Linked DNA regions of Homo sapiens: region 2 is linked to region 1. The links are contacts of gene promoters, found by promoter capture Hi-C in human tissues and cell types (Jung and others, 2019). All regions are on one chromosome and are shown on one strand. The core of a region is centred on a gene start or on the middle of the fragment in contact, and the rest is flanking DNA. Distances in the headings are between cores, read along the strand shown.

The links. Contacts are between HindIII fragments. The study calls those that stand out against the background at their distance.
Region 2: a contact is called between the fragment with the promoter of SRRM2 here and the fragment with the promoter of MAPK8IP3 in region 1, in 1 of the 25 tissues and cell types used here (lymphoblastoid cells).

Annotation. Positions count from the first base shown.
Region 1 is chr16:1,703,342-1,710,865 of GRCh38, reverse strand. MAPK8IP3 (mitogen-activated protein kinase 8 interacting protein 3) reads right to left here and starts at 4,671. Exons shown (of 32, transcript NM_001318852.2): 1 at 4,209-4,671. The coding sequence starts at 4,526. RefSeq lists silencers at 4,128-4,177, 4,198-4,307, 4,578-4,917, 5,824-6,118 and an enhancer at 4,476-5,340. The HindIII fragment of the contact is 16,634 bases long and covers 1-7,502 here.
Region 2 is chr16:2,750,091-2,757,614 of GRCh38, reverse strand. It overlaps SRRM2 (serine/arginine repetitive matrix 2), which reads right to left and starts at 4,977. Exons shown (of 15, transcript NM_016333.4): 1 at 4,769-4,977; 2 at 1,009-1,281; 3 at 36-143. The coding sequence starts at 1,250. SRRM2-AS1 (SRRM2 antisense RNA 1) reads left to right here and starts at 5,015. Exons shown (of 6, transcript NR_027275.1): 1 at 5,015-5,173. RefSeq lists enhancers at 3,569-4,411, 4,412-5,254, 5,136-5,425, 5,486-5,655, 5,255-6,097 and 1 more and silencers at 4,566-4,625, 4,646-4,955. The HindIII fragment of the contact is 13,386 bases long and covers 1-7,524 here.

The sequences.
Region 1 (7,524 bases), core at 3,422-5,921:
CACCAGGCCAGCTTTCAGAGGCACCTAGGAAAGGCAGCTCTGGCAGCCCCATCTTGATAGCTTCATTTAAAAAACATTTTTTAAAAAACTGTTCTTAATATCATAACATGGCAGGAAAAGAAATCGCATACTCTGGCCAAGCAGTGGTGGATTTACTATTTGTCATATGAAAAACAAAAATAAAAATTTCTGATTCAGCATCTTAATTCATTGATGGAAAAGACTTCCTGCAGATCGTCTGGCGCAGAGGAGAAAAAAAGAAGGAAAAATGGCAGACTGATCATCTCTGTAGAGCGGGATTATGGTGTTTGTTTTCTCCAGCTGAATCCTACCCAAATAGTCTATGAAATGGATGACATTTATTTATTTATTTTTATCTATTTATTTATTTTGAGACAGAGTCTCACTCTTGTTGCCCAGGCTGGAGTGCAGTGGTATGATCTTGGTTCACCACAACATCTGCCTCCTGGGTTCAAGTGATTCTCCTGCCTCAGCCTCCCGAGTGCTGGGACTACAGGGGCCTGCCGCCACACCTGGCTAATTTTTTTTTCTTTTTTTTTTCTTTAGTAGAGACAGGGTTTCGCCAGGTTCGCCAGGCTGGTCTCAAACTCCTGACCTGAGATGAGGAGGTCAGGAGTTCAATGTCAAATGTTGGGAGGCTGAGGTGGGAGGATTGCTTGAGTCCAGGAGTTTGAGACCAGCCTGGGCAACATAGCGTGACCTCATCTCTCGCCTGCCTCAGCCTCCCAAAGTGCTGGGATTACACATGTGAGAGTCGCTGCGCCTGGCCGGTAACTTTTATTTAACTCGGAAAAAATAAGTTTTGGATAAAACTGTCTTCCCTTGCATCCTTTCCTTACATAGCATCAAATGCCGAATGATCAGCAAACATCACCATCTGGGCTTGTTGAGAGAACACCCACTCCAGCTGCCTGCCATGAGCCTGGGGGGTGTTACCAGCAGCAGTTTCTTTAGGGTTAAGAAGATTTTAAGGCAAATAATGACCACTAATATTCACATGTCATCTCTCACACCTTATTTTTCCTCTTGTAAGCTAAGCAGTTGATCACTATGGGAGAAGGGCTCTTTGCTGCCCGGGTAAGCCCGGCAAACGTGGTGGCTCTGCCCGGCCCTCCTCTGGAGCTGCACCGGACGGTGCGTGTGGAGGCAGCATCTGCTCCTTGCCAGCCCCCACCCCGTTCAGCTGCTGTTTCCCACCTTCTTCTTTTCCACTGGGAAATAACTTGAGGGTTTTAAAAAACTTTGTATCAGAGCCTGCACAACCAGAAACTGCACTGTCTGGTAGGCGGCTAGCAATGTCCGGTGCCTGCCGTCCACGGCGGCCCTGAGAACCCGTCAAGGGTTCTGCCCTGACTCTGCTACATCTGCCTGCCCACAATTCTCCAGGCAACCAACAGCCAGTGATGGTGCTTGGATCTTGAGATGAAACTGACTTGCAAAGTCCGCGGCCACTGCAGCCCAGCGAGGGGAAGAGGATGGACCCAGGGTGTGTGGCTCCTGAGGGCCGGGCTGACACTCAGGCTGGGGTCTGCAGACTCCACGGCTTGGGTCAGTCTCTCGGGAGACCCCACCCTCTCTAGCTCCTGTCACTCTCATACACTCAGCTGCCTGTTATCAGAGCACATTGGGAGTCACTGTGGTAATGACCGGCAAGAAGATGGGAACAGGGATGTCTGCTCTGCTCAGGTTTTTATAAAACCCTGCGGATTCTGTCTGCTCAGAAGCTGCAGTGGCTCAGGTTACCCATCTCTGACTAAGCCTTCTTGAGCAGAGTGGCTGGGGACGGAGCTTCTGCTGACAGCTCACCCAGGAGCTCCTCTGCAACAAGACACGCCTGCAGCGTGTGACGTCCCGCTCCCCTCTTATCAGACACACGTCTATGTGATCACAAGTCCCTGCCTAGAAAAGACGCCGACCCACAGGGCACAATGGTCTACAAAGTTGGAAATGAAGGTCTGCTTGATTCAGTAGAGGAGTAGGCATGCCAAATGTTGACAGCATCGAGCCCTCTTCCTTAGTTGTAAAGCCCTGAGGTCTTTCCAAGGGCGCCCCGTTAGCGTTTAATCATAGCCTCCATGCTGGCCAAGCATTGGCTGGCTTCGGGGCTCGGCTCCCGAAGCTCTCGGTGCAGCTTCTCTAAAGCGCTGGGGCAATGGTGGGTCTCAGACTAAAGGTGATAGCTTTGCAAACCACACGCACACCCGCCAGCTTGGTTCAGCAGGAGCCCTGGGGGAGGGCAGATGCACTCACAGCAGCTTGCATGTGAACCGCACAGAGCTGGGCAGCGCCTATCCTGTGCACAGCTCATTTTTAAGCGGCAAGGTTATAATTCCTAGCCTTAACGTTGTCCATCTTGATTTTCTCCTTTCAGTTCCTTCTCGTCCACTATACTGACCACACAGGTACAAGGTGAAAAAAAGAAACCCACCTGAAATCCAGGTCAGGCCACTGAGTGTGGGAGAGCAGTGGAGGGCGGTGCCCAGCACAGGGGGCAGCCACAGCTCCACAGCTGAGCGAGGGCAGCCCTGGCACTCCAGGCTTCTGGGGAGCAGCCCTCCGGTGCCTGCAGCTGCCTGACATGGAAGCAAGTGCCCAGGCCGGTGTCGGGTTCACTCTGCATCCTGGCTGGGCACTTCTGGGGTGGGTGACCTTGGTTCAGCCCCTCCACTTCTCAGGACAAGTTTCCTTCCCAGTAAAATGCCTATAGTCACCCTGAGCTCCAAAATCCATGAACCTTTGCGTTCCCTTAGGTTGAGAGCTTTAACTCAGCTTTGCTGGAACCGGGGCATTCCAATCAATGCATAACCACCTCGCGACAGACACGAAGCCCAAACGCAATAGAAACCACAGGAAAGGAGGAATGATACAACATACTGTTATGATTTTTATAAACACGCTTTAAACCAAACTAGGCCATAAATCACCTTGGTTTCAGAAAAAGCCAAAATACTGACACAATCTTTTATTTTCCTATTAAAGTCAAGAATGTGTTAAGCCGAATTAATTGAAAAGGAATTGAAGCTCATTTCCTAAGACACTTCTATTCATAAGTCAAACAGCATTACCTAACTCCTAGAATGAGAGAATTTCTGGGCTTGGAGATCGCCTAGTGCAATTCACTCCTTTGATGGAAAATCGAACCCCAGGCAGGCGACAGGCCAAGGTCACAGAGGCAAAGCAGGGATGGGAACCAGCCTCCCTGAACCTGTTTCTGACAAAGGGCGAGGTTCTGGGCCCACACACAGGCAGGCCGAGCTCAGTATCTGACGGTGAATGAATGAAGCTAAGTGGTGCTCCCCACAGGGCCCGGCTCTTGTAACTGCTTCACAGACAAGCGATTTCCAGGTTATGGAGACATCCTAGCACAGAATTAAACGCTTCAAACTCAGACTGTTAACTCCTCAGAAGCCAGAGTGGAGTTTCTCAGCCCTGGCTACATCAGCTAACAATCTCGCCAAGCAAGGAACCAAGGGGGCAAAGACATCACCTCCAGAAACTCGAGTGTTCCTTCTGCTGACAGAGGAGCAGCCCGCCTGCGGCCTTGTTCTGTGTTTACATCAACCACCCAATTCACCCGTGTCACAGACCTTCAAAATACGGGATTAGGGACAAGGGAAAGGTCTCCAACATCATCCACAGACGGCTGCAGCCCCCTAAGAACACCAAAAGATTCCTTTTCTAGATGGGTTTAGAATGGCAGCCAACAGAGGTAGCACTTGGGGTCGGGAAACGGTTTTGACTGAACACACGCACGAAAGCAAAGGCAATTGTCATGCAGAGGTGGGTGGGGAGGGGAGAGTGAGGCCTGGCTTTGAAGCTGAGCTCCCCGGGGATGACGCCAGGCACATCGGGTTTGGGGCTGAAGATTCAGGGCTGGGGGCACGGAGGAGGGGGCCAGGGCCCAGGCCTGGGCGGAAAAGGGGGTCCCCGGGAGTCGGGGTGGGGTCCCGGGGCAGGCGGGGGAGTGCTCTAGGGAGGTGTCTCACGGCGGGCAGAGGGGGTGGGGAAGTCCCGGGGCGGGGGATATGGGGTCCAGGCGGGTCTCGGGGCGGGGTCTGGGGGTCCAGGGGTCCCGCGGTCCGGGGTGCCGGAGCGGGGTCTGGGGTCGGGACGGGTGTTGGGTCCGGGGCCCGGGGCTGGCTGGGGGTCCGGGACGGGGATGCGGGCGGGTCCCGCGGCCCACGCACCTCCTCCGCCTGCCTGCGCAGCGCCTTCTCACGCTCGTACTGGGTGAGCAGCTGCTCGTTGTCCTCGCGCAGCAGCTCCAGCTCCACCTCGTGCTCCTGGTTCTCGCTGAGCACCGAGTCTAGGTTCTCCAGCACGTTCACCACCAGCGGCATGAGCTCCTTGACCACCTCCTCGTCGTAGCAGTGGATGAGGCGCTCGAACTCGCGGTAGATGGAGCCCGCCAGGCCCGACACCCGCTCCGACATCACCGAGCCGGAGCAGTAGTCGTCCTGGTACACCACCACGCCGCCGCCCTCGTCCATCTGGATCTCCATCATCGCGGCCACCGCCGCCGCCAGCGCGGCTCGCTATCCGGCCGGCGCGCCCGGCCCTCCCCAGCTGCCTCAGGTTCCGCAGGCCGCAGCCCGTCGCCTCCCGCAGCTGCTGTCGCCTCAGGGCTCCGCCGCCGCCGCTGCCGAGGCTGCGCCCGTCACTCACTCACCGGAAGTCCCGCCCTCCAGCCGGAGGGGGCGGTGCCCGCGCGTCCCGCCGCAGCCGCGCCGCCAGGGGGCGCAGGGGCCGTGACGTCAGAGGAAGCCGGGCTTCGGGCCGGAAGCGCGGGTGAGCCGGGCAGAGGGAGCTCCCGGCCAGGCCGGTGGGATCCGCGGGGCGGCAGTGGTCGCTTCCCCCAGCGCGCTGTAGCTTGATCATGTCCCCGCAACCGTGGGCTTCCGGTGACCTCGATCCCGTCTCCAGGCTCTGCACACTTCGGCGGACTTAGGTGAAGGCTCAGCGCCTGCGCCTCAATCCCGGCCGCCCTGATGAGCCTCCGTTCCCTACAGCACCGCGCCCCGCTCAGTGCCTCCCCTCTCCTGATGCCTTCCCCGCTCAGCTGGCTCCTCCCGGGATTCTGTGAATGCACCCTCAACGCCCATCTCATCCTGAAACCCAGCAGCGTGGCCTCCTTCCTTTCGCCCACTTCTCCCTACTGCACTGACTGCTTCAGATTTTCTTTTTTTTTTTTTTTTTTGAGATGGAGTCTTGCTCTGTCGCCCAGGCTGGAGTGCGGTGGCGCGATCCTGGCTCACTGCAAGCTCCGCCTTCTGGGTTCAAGTGATTCTTCTCCCTCAGCCTCCGGAGTAGCTGGGATTACAGACCAGCTAATTTTGTATTTTTAGTAGAGACGGGGTTTCGCCATGTTGGCCAGGCTGGTCTCAAATTTCTGATCTCAAGTGATCCGCCCGCCTCGACCTCCCAGAGTGCTGGGATGACAGGCGTGAGCCACCGCGCCAGTCCAGATTTTCGGTTACTTTTCAGCTACGTGCAATCTGTTTAACCCATCCACTGGGTTATTAATTGCACCGATTTTTTTTTTTTTGAGACGGTGTTTCGCTCTTGTCGCCCAGGCTGGAGTGTGATGGCGCGATCTCGGCTCACTGCAACCTTCGCCTCCTGGGTCCAAGCGATTCTCCTGCCTCAGCCTCCTGAGTAGCTGGGACTACAGACACGCGCTATTAACGCCCGGCTCATTTTTTTGTATTTTTAGTAGAGACGGGGTTTCACCATGTTGGCCAGGCTGGTCTTGAACTGCTGACCTCAAGTGATCCACCCGCCTCCCTCGGCGTCCCAAAGTGCTGGGATTACAGGCGTGAGCCACTGCACCCTGCCAATGATTCTGTTTTTGTCCTATTTGATTTCTTATATTCTAGCAGTTTTAATAGGCTCTTATACTTCCAACCACATATTTATCTTTAAGCGTTGGGTGTGCCTCATAACTACAGTATCTGCAGCCCTTGCAGGTCTGATTCTGCATGTCATCCTGGTTGACTCTTGGCCCAGGGTCCCCTTTCCCCCATTCTGAGCCAGTGTCCCCAGGACTTTTGTCTCTGGAAGTACTTGAGGCCTGAACTTAAAATGTGTTGCTCCGTAAGATTTGCACTTTATTTTGCTGGGCAGGGGACACCATGAACCCAAGACTTTGAAACTCAATTTGGGAGCCACACATGTATTGTGAATCCTGATGAAACCACATCAGTGACTATTTAATGCTAATAGAAATGGCCACTTACCGTCTTTCACCTACTGCAATGCTCATCAGTTCAGATCCTCTCATCCTAATCTGATTGCACCGAAACAGTAACTCCCGTAGCTGACACCCTACTGATTTTTTTTGTTGTTCAGTTTTTAGAGGCAGGGTCTCACCCTGTTGCTCAGGCTGGAGGCACTGGCATGATCAGGGCTCACTTGAACTCTTAGGCTCAAGTGATCCCACCTCAGCCTCCTAAGTAGTTGGGTCTACAGGTGTAAGCCACCACTGCTTGGCCAATTTTAAAAACATTTTTGTAGAGACAGAGGTCTCACTGTTACTCTGGCTGGTCTTGAACTCCTGGCCTCAAGCGATCCTCCCCCTTGGCCTCCCAAAGTGCTTAGATGACAGGTGTGAGCCACCATGCCAGGCTCTATTGTGTTTTTCACATTTTCCACTTGCAACATAATTTGCCGTATACATGTTCAACCATCCCACTAAGAGGTTTCATTCAGCCTCAGATTCCAATTTCCTGGGATCCCAAGTGACTTAATTTTGCCAAATCTCCATTTCTTTTCTTTTCTTTTTTTTTTTTTCCTGAGATGGAGTCTCAGTCTGTGGCCCAGGCTGGAGTGCAGTGGCACCATCTCAGCTCACTGTTACTTCCGCCCCCCGTGTTCAAGCCATTCTCCTGCCTCAGCCTCCCGAGTAGCTGGGACTACAGGCATGTGCTACCACGCCTGGCTAATTTTTGTAATTTTTAGTAGAGATGGGGGTTTCACCATACTGGTCAGGCCGGTCTCAAACTCCTGACCTCAGGTGATCCACCCACCTCAGCCTCCCAGTGTTGGGATTACAGGCATGAGCCACCGTGCCTGGCCCCAAATCTCTGTTTCTAAGCCTGCAAAACAGCCTAAAATATCCAGCCTATTAGGAATGTCAGCTAATCCATGAAAGGAGCATGGCGCCATCTCCAGCAAATAACGTGCGATAAAGGTTACGGAGAGTTGTGAGGTTCCATAAAGTGAAAATGATAAGGCTGGGCAAACAGATGTAATCTATAATTCTTCCTGGTGAACAAGTTAGAGCAAGCTTGCATTTTGGGGGATGTTTAAAGCTTCTGCTTTATACCTTTGAGAAACTTGAGCCCTTTGAATTCCTGAGGTAGCACACTACAGTAGGAACAATGCTACCACAGGGAGAGGCCAACAGACTTGGCCATCAACTCAATTGATTAATTATCACTACCATGATTGCACAGATTTGTTACTTTAAGTTGGTTAAAATGAAATTTTAACAAGGTGCTGGAT
Region 2 (7,524 bases), core at 3,728-6,227, 1.0 Mb before region 1:
AGTCCAGAGTCATCGAGGGAGAGCGCAACACTCACGCTGGCCTCTGCCCTGGGGTCTCCTCCTTGCCCCCAGGGTTCACATCCTTCTCCAGCAACATGAGTCGAAAGGTCGCCACTTTTTCCTGAATTTGCTGTTCCTCGTACCTGAAGAACAAATCCCTTCAGGGTTAAGCTCGACAGGACACTTTCCCCAGTCCCAGGTTTCCATTTCCCTCATTCCCAAAAGGGGCCCCTCCCTCTCCATGCGCACACAGAACTTTTCGCTCACCCAAAAGTCCCTTCTGTCTGATCTTTTCCCATCATCTTTCTTCCCTCTACTTACTACTCCCTCTAGAACAGTGGATTTTAAATATGCTACACCTCAGGGACCAAAAGAAAAAAGTTAAGCAAGCAGGGTTCCAAGTGCTCCTCCCCAACTTCAACAAGAATGTGCCTTTTACTTCCTGGGATTCCAAAGTAAGGGATACTGTATAAAAGGATCACCATTGCTGAAGTTTAAAACCACTGCTCTAAAAGAGTTTTCTGCCTTAATGGGCTCCTTTTCCAAAATTTCCCTTCCCAGCCCATGATTCCCACTTCTTCACGTATTCTTCTAATTCCTCTTTTCCTGCCTATGCTACTTTCCAAGGCCTCAATCCTTACATCCATTTATCTTCTTCTTTTCTACCAATGACAACACCTATCAGCTTACCTAGCTCCTCTACCTGGTCTCTGCTTTCCCATCTCTTCCTTAAAACACATTTTTGTTCCTCAATGGCCCCTCCCTTCTCCCACGTGCCTCCATTTAGTACCTCAGGCTCCCATCTATGCCCCAGACACACAGCCTTCTCATTTCCCACTCTGCACTGTCCCTTAACTGTTTTCACTTCTCTAGAGCTCATCTGCCTCCTCCCCTACCACAACTCTTTGCCAGGCCTCTTTCAACCACCCTAAGCTCCCTATACATCCCACCTAACACCCCCAGCTCTGCACTCATTCAGTGCTTGACTCTCCCCCAGCTCTCCCTCACCCCTGCTCTTCCATCATCTCCTCCAGCTCGAGGCATCGCAGCTCGACGCGCCGCTTGCGCTCGTGGTCCAGGATGTCAGGATTAGGCCGCTTCACCAGGGCAGCCTCCAGGCGCCGCAGTTCCTCCTCTCCCTTGTAGTCAGGCCGCTCACCCCGGCGGCCCCGCACCAGGGACAGGTTGCGCTGGACGTAGCCGTTGGTGCCGCTGCCCCGGGGCGTCGGCAGCCCGATCCCGTTGTACATGGCCCCGTGCCCGGGGGGGGCACCACCGCTCCTGAGGGGGAGCGGGGAGACACGGGTCAGGCCCCTGGCCCCAAACTAACCACTTACCGCCCCACACCCAAGTCCCTGCTCTCCTTCATCCCTAATTCAACATTGATCTTCACACTAAGTCTTCGCTGTATAATGCTCCACCATCCTCCTGGTCTCCCAAGAAAACCACTTCTTTGCCCTTCCAAATTTCCTTTCTACCAAATCACAGCCCAGTTCTTACAGCCTTTCTCTCAATGCCCTTGCACAGAATTCTAAATAATCCCTCCCTACACCTAAATTTTCTTCTTTTTCCACCCTAGGCAAACAAGGATCTTGTTCCTCTAAAATCTCTCCACACTGTCCCTTTTTGTTCTCCTTTGGCCCCAAAATGCACAAGTGGTGTGTTTACCAACTACTCTAATTCCTAACCTCTGGTAACCAACCAAAGCCTCCTGGTCACAACAAACACCAGACACAGATCTGTGGCACCCAACGGCCTCTAGTCCATGTCCAAAGACTCTCCCAAAAACTTACCTAAGGATTTCAGACCACCCTATACGAATATGAAATAAACTACACAGCCCCTAGGTATCTGAACAGCAGACTAGTTGGTTCAGAATGTGCAGCCTCACACCCCAACTAAAGGCCAGCATGCACATCAGAAACACACATGAACCTTGGATAATCGTCATATACTTCACCTCCCAGGTAAGGGCCATTTCCTTGATTCCAAATATTTAAAGATCCTATCAACTATCCTGATATTTTATTCCTTCAATTTCCTTCCTCTCAATAGGATTTACAACAATTTGCAGTTCCTCCCTGTCTTGCCAGCTGTCAAATATTACCTGTTTTCAACTCTGCTCTATTTAAACACATCAAACCAGCCTCCTCTGTTCCAACCGTTCCCATACCTTCTCCATATACCTTGCCCTAAATCTATGTAGAAACCCTCTCTACACCCCACTTTCATTAATGTCCAACCGTTGGCTTTCCCCACCAATCCCCTGGATAGCACTTCCTAGTTTTTCTCTCTCAGCCCTGCCTCTTCCTTCTCTCCTGTGTTAACCCCATGCCTCCTCCCAGGTTCTAGCCTTTCAACTTGTCCCAACCCTAACGTGATTCTGAAAAATTCTCAAGTCCCAGCTTTCCTGGTTAGATTCCTTGGCTACACATACTCTATTCCTTTCTCCTATTACATATACTCTCTTTCTCACCCTCATCCTCTCCAAGATAGTTTCCTAGAACATGCATATATGAGAAAATACTACTAAGAAAAAACCCTAAGGAATACGTAAAGCGGAGAGAGTAATCAAAGATGTAAAAGAACTGGATAGAAGGGAAGGATGCATTTAGAAAATTCCAGAATGAAGAAGCATCATACAAATGTTTGGAAAAATATACTAGCGCATGCGCCTAAGGATGGGTCCCTACCCAAGCCCAGTAGCAGACCCAATATTGAAAGCAGAAGGTGACAGAAGAGGCTAAACCTGGATAAGGCAAGCAGAAATCCAGGAAAAAATGAAAAACTGTATGGCTCAAAAAATCAATTTCTCTACACCCCAATCCTCATTTTCATCTTCTAGTACCAATCCTCCTCACGGTTTAAAACTAGGTCCTTCTTCGCCTCTCCCCTACCCCACTTAATTTCTGCTTCCCCTGCAGCATGTTTTTGACCTGCACTTAATTCTTCAGCTTAACCATTCACCCACACTTCCATACCACCTCACACAAAAATCCCCCCACTCCTTAAGAAAGGAAAACCAGGCCGGGTACGGTGGCTCACGCCTGTAACACCTGCACTTTGGGAGGCCGAGGTGGGCGGATCACCAGATCAGGAGATTGACACCAGCCTGGCCAACACGGTGAAACTCCATCTCTACCAAAAATACAAAAATTAGCTGGGCGGCGGCGATTGCCTGTAATCTCAGCAACTCCAGAGGCTGAAGCAGGAGAATCGCTTGAACCCGGGAGGCGGAAGGTTGCAGTGAGCCGAGATCGCGCCACTGCACTCCGGCCTGCCAACAGAGCTAGACTCCGTCTCGGAAAAAAAAAAAAAAGAAAAACCAGTAGGTGCTAAGCAAAGGATATTAGGTCACAATGTTTCGGAGAACTTTTAGGGAATGAGCCACCTAGTCCACCCCACAAAAAAAGACGACGACCCCACGGCATCTAAGGGGTGTGTTAAGACACAGAAAGTAGGAAGATCAACACCACACACAAATCACCAAACCAAACGATATTACAAAACTCTTAAAGTGGGGGCCATAGACAGTGGATATGCAAAAGTTACCCAAGTTAAAAGCAGAAAGTAAAAAGTACAAAGGAAGACAAAAACACCCTTTTCTGTTGGGAAATTATCCGAGTGGTAAGCTAACAATGAAGTAGAAAGATATATTTGAATTCAACAGTAAAATATGCAAAAAAGAAAACGGTACCAAAAGGGGAGAAAAAGGGGAGACAAGGGTTGTCGAAAAAAATGGACATCAGCAAGCACAGCCAGCTCAGCACCGGGGCGCTCCAGAGCGGCTGAGTGGACACAAAGAACCCAGAAAGCTAAAATAGTAGCTTTAGAAGAGCCCTAAGCCCACGCACTTAGGATGAAAGACAACACAACACTCTGAAATTCTGATCCAGATTCGTCCTAACTGAAGCCGAGTGGAAACCAAGCTTCAGAAGAGCTGTGTGCCAAAGAACGCCTGAAACCAACCAGAAAACTTATATATGAGTCTGGCGTTTTCTTCCCAACGAAGGTCTCCAAAAGCCTCCTTAGTTTGAACACGAATTCTCGGGAGACGTTGAAAAAGTGTAAAAAGGGAACGCACGGTCTACCTTACAAATGTAAACTGAACACGTTCACTTTCTTCACAGTTTTTAAGATTTGGGGTTTCTCCCCGCCACTAACAACTCAAAGGCTGATAGCCGGGAATCCTAAACCATTTAAATCCGGCCCACGAAGTTCAAGGCCCTCCCCGCAGCGCCGGGGGCCTATTTTCGGCCTTGCGGAATGGGGGAGGGGGCTGCGCGGCGTCCCGCAGTCTGGGAGGCCCCCGACACGGGCAGCCCAACGCCGAAGAGAAGCCCGAGGAAAGGAGATCTGGAACCGGGGGCAAGGGTCCAGGAGCAAGCCCCCCGCCGCCGCCCCTTCCCCGCCACTTAAGGGCCGAAAACGGCAGCTGCAGGAAGGCCACCTCGGCGGCACATGTTGGGGGGAGGAGTGAAGCCGAGGCGCGCGCCCTCCCCCCTCACCAAGGGCGCTCGCGAACCCGAGTACAGGCGGCTGCGAACGCCGTTGTCATGGGGGAGGGGCGGGGGGGGGTGAAGCCCGCGCGCGACAGGAACGGCGGGAAGGGGGAAGGGAGGCGAGGGCGTCCGCGCCAGCGAAGGGCGTCGAGCGCGCGTGCGCGCGGAGGAGCTCGGCGGCCTGGGCAGTTCTCCGCGCGCTTTGGCCTCGCGCCGGGGCCGCCGCCCCTCCCCCACCCGGCTCGCTGGCTCCCTCACCCTCTCACCCGCCGCCTCCGCCCGCCGCCTCCGAGGGGGAGAGGTCTTGCCGCCGCCGCTGCTCGAGCTCCCGAGTCCCTCGGGCCTGGGGCCGCCGCCTCGCCTCGCCGGTCCGCCCGCCTCAGCCGACGCCGACGCCTCCTCGCTTCCTCAGGGGCCGCAACGGGCTCCAACTGCGCCACTCGCACCCCGCCTGGGCCGCGCTGCACGTCAGCACGACTAACTGCGTGCGTCAGCACGCAAACGCGCGTCGCGGGGCCTGCCGGGAACTGGAGTGCGCCCCGCGGCCTTTTGCGCAGGCGCCGAAGCCACACCGCGAAGTACCGTTTTTTCAGGCACAAGGAAGGTTTCACCCCGTTGCCGAAAGACTAAGCGTCCCGTTGGCCAGTGCAACGAAGAACGGAGGAAGCGACGTAAGACACCGCGTATTCGTAGGCCTTCCGCTGCGGGGAGGAGCACAGGGCCTAGCGGCAGCAAAGCGACGCCCGAGCGCGTCTCGTCTCCCGCTGTCGATGCAGAGCATTCTGGGAGTTGTGGTTCGGGCGTGTCGCGGAGCCCGGATGTAATTTCGGCTCGGGGCGTGGCGGCCATTTTGTCTCCCCATGTTGGGAGACGATATCCCAGCCGCGGTGGTGCTGCCGCTTTCGTGTGACTTTGGGTTTCCCGAGCGAGCCCGCAGCTGCACAGCAGTCCGCCTTCCCGTACCCGAGAGAAGCCGCCTCAGACCCCAGCCAGCGGGCACCCCCGGAGGCCCCGAGCCTGGCTGCAGGCCCTAGACCTGCACCAGGGGCCCAACCAGTTACCCGTAGCATGGGCCACGTTCTCCCGCTGTAGACCGGGCTGAGGCCCGACGGCCACCCCTGGGGGAGGAGTTTTCTTAGCTTCCGGTAGGGCAGCCAGGCCGGGGTCCCACCAGACCCAGGACGTGATACCGGTGAAGCGGCACATACAGGAACAAGGCAGGAGGAAAATAATAAGCACCTTAAAGTTTCCACTTTTCGGTACCGTACTTCCTGTTAATGTTTCTAAGCCCGTGATTCTGGGCCTGATAATCAGCCAGCCGTCCTCACAGCAGAGTTGTAAGACGCTGGGCTGCTCAAGCACAAGTTCATATCTAGACCCACCGCTGGCGAGCAGCCCTGGACGTCCCGCTTAGCTGTCCTAACCAACTCAGGTGGCCTTGATCCGCAACAGGACGCGGTACCACGTAATGAACTGTCCATTTGAGTGCAAGGATTTATATTTGTTATTACGATTTGGGGGTGTTTTTAAGAGGCAGGGTTTTGCCCAGGCTGTTCTCGAATTTGGGGCTCAAGCGATCCTCCGACCTCAGCCTCCCAAGTAGCTGGGACTACCCGTGCATGACACCCTATCTGGCCCTTGTTTTTTGTTGTTGTTGTTGTTCTTTCTTTTTTCACGTGGTTTCGCACTTGTCACCCAGGCTGGAGTGCAATGGTGTGTTGTCGGCTCACTGCAACCTGTCTCTCAGGTTGAAGTGATTCTCGTGTCTCAGTCTTCCGAGTAGCTGGGATTACAGGCGTGTGCCACCACGCCTGGCTAATTTTTGTATTTTTAGTAAAGACGGGGCTTCACTATATTGGTCAGGCTGGTCTCGATTTCCTGACCTCAGGTGATCTGCCCACCTCAGCCTCCCAAAGTGCTGATATTACAGGCGTGAGCCACCACGCCCGGCCCGTATCCGGCTTTAAGATTTGTTTTTCACTTGCCCGTGGGAGGATGTACTTATCTCAGATGCTAGAGCCGGGAGACCCTCCCCCCCACCACCCCCATCTCCTGCAGGAGCTCTGATCGCAGATTGGAGTGTCTGAACTCTGCATCTATGGACGGTGCTTCTGTAAGCCGGCCGCAACTCTGGAGTGGCATAGTAAAGTGGCAAAGGCTTTGCCTTTCTGGTTAAAGACCCCAGCACCTCCAGTGAGACCCTTTCCTGTACCCCCACTGATATTCTTTATGGAATGTTTTGTGCGTGAGTCAGCACATTTAATGCCCGTGAATAGTGACAAAACATGGTTTGCAGTACCCTAATGACTGATGATGCTGAGAATCTTTTGATGTGCTTGTTGGCCGTTTGTACATCTTTGGAGAAATTTCTCTTCGTGTCTTTTGTCTATTTTATTTTTTTGGGACAGAGTCTCACTCCTAACCCCGGGCTGGAGTGCAGTGGCACGATCTCCACGCACTACAATTCTTGTACCTCAGCCTCCCAAGTAGCTGGGATTACAGGCGCACGCCACCACCCAGCTCATTTTTTTATTTTTAGTAGAGGTGGAGTTTTTTGTAGAGATTGTGTCTCCCTGTGTTGCCCAGGCTGGTCTTGAACTCCTGGGCTCAAACTGTCCTCCCCCCTTAACCTCCCAAAGTGCTGGGATTACAGGTGTGAGCCATGGCACCCAGCCCTAGAATGATTTTTTAGTTTCCCTTTAAACTTTATTTTTTTATTCACTGTAGTGTGGTGGACGGTGGTGCCCCAAAACTTCACAACCACCTAGACATTCGGAAGGTGACCTTATTTGGAATAAGAGATTTTGCAGATGTAATTGAGTTAAAGATCTGAAGATGAAATCATCATGAATTTAGGGTAGGCCGTAAATCCAATGACTGACATCCTTACAAGAAGACAAGAGGACACAGGCACCCGGGGGAAGAGGCCGTAGGAGACCCAGGCAGAGATTCGGAGCGGTGCCCATGCCAGGGATCTCCAGGAGGAGCCAGAAGCTGGGAGAGGCCCTGCAGATCCTCTCCC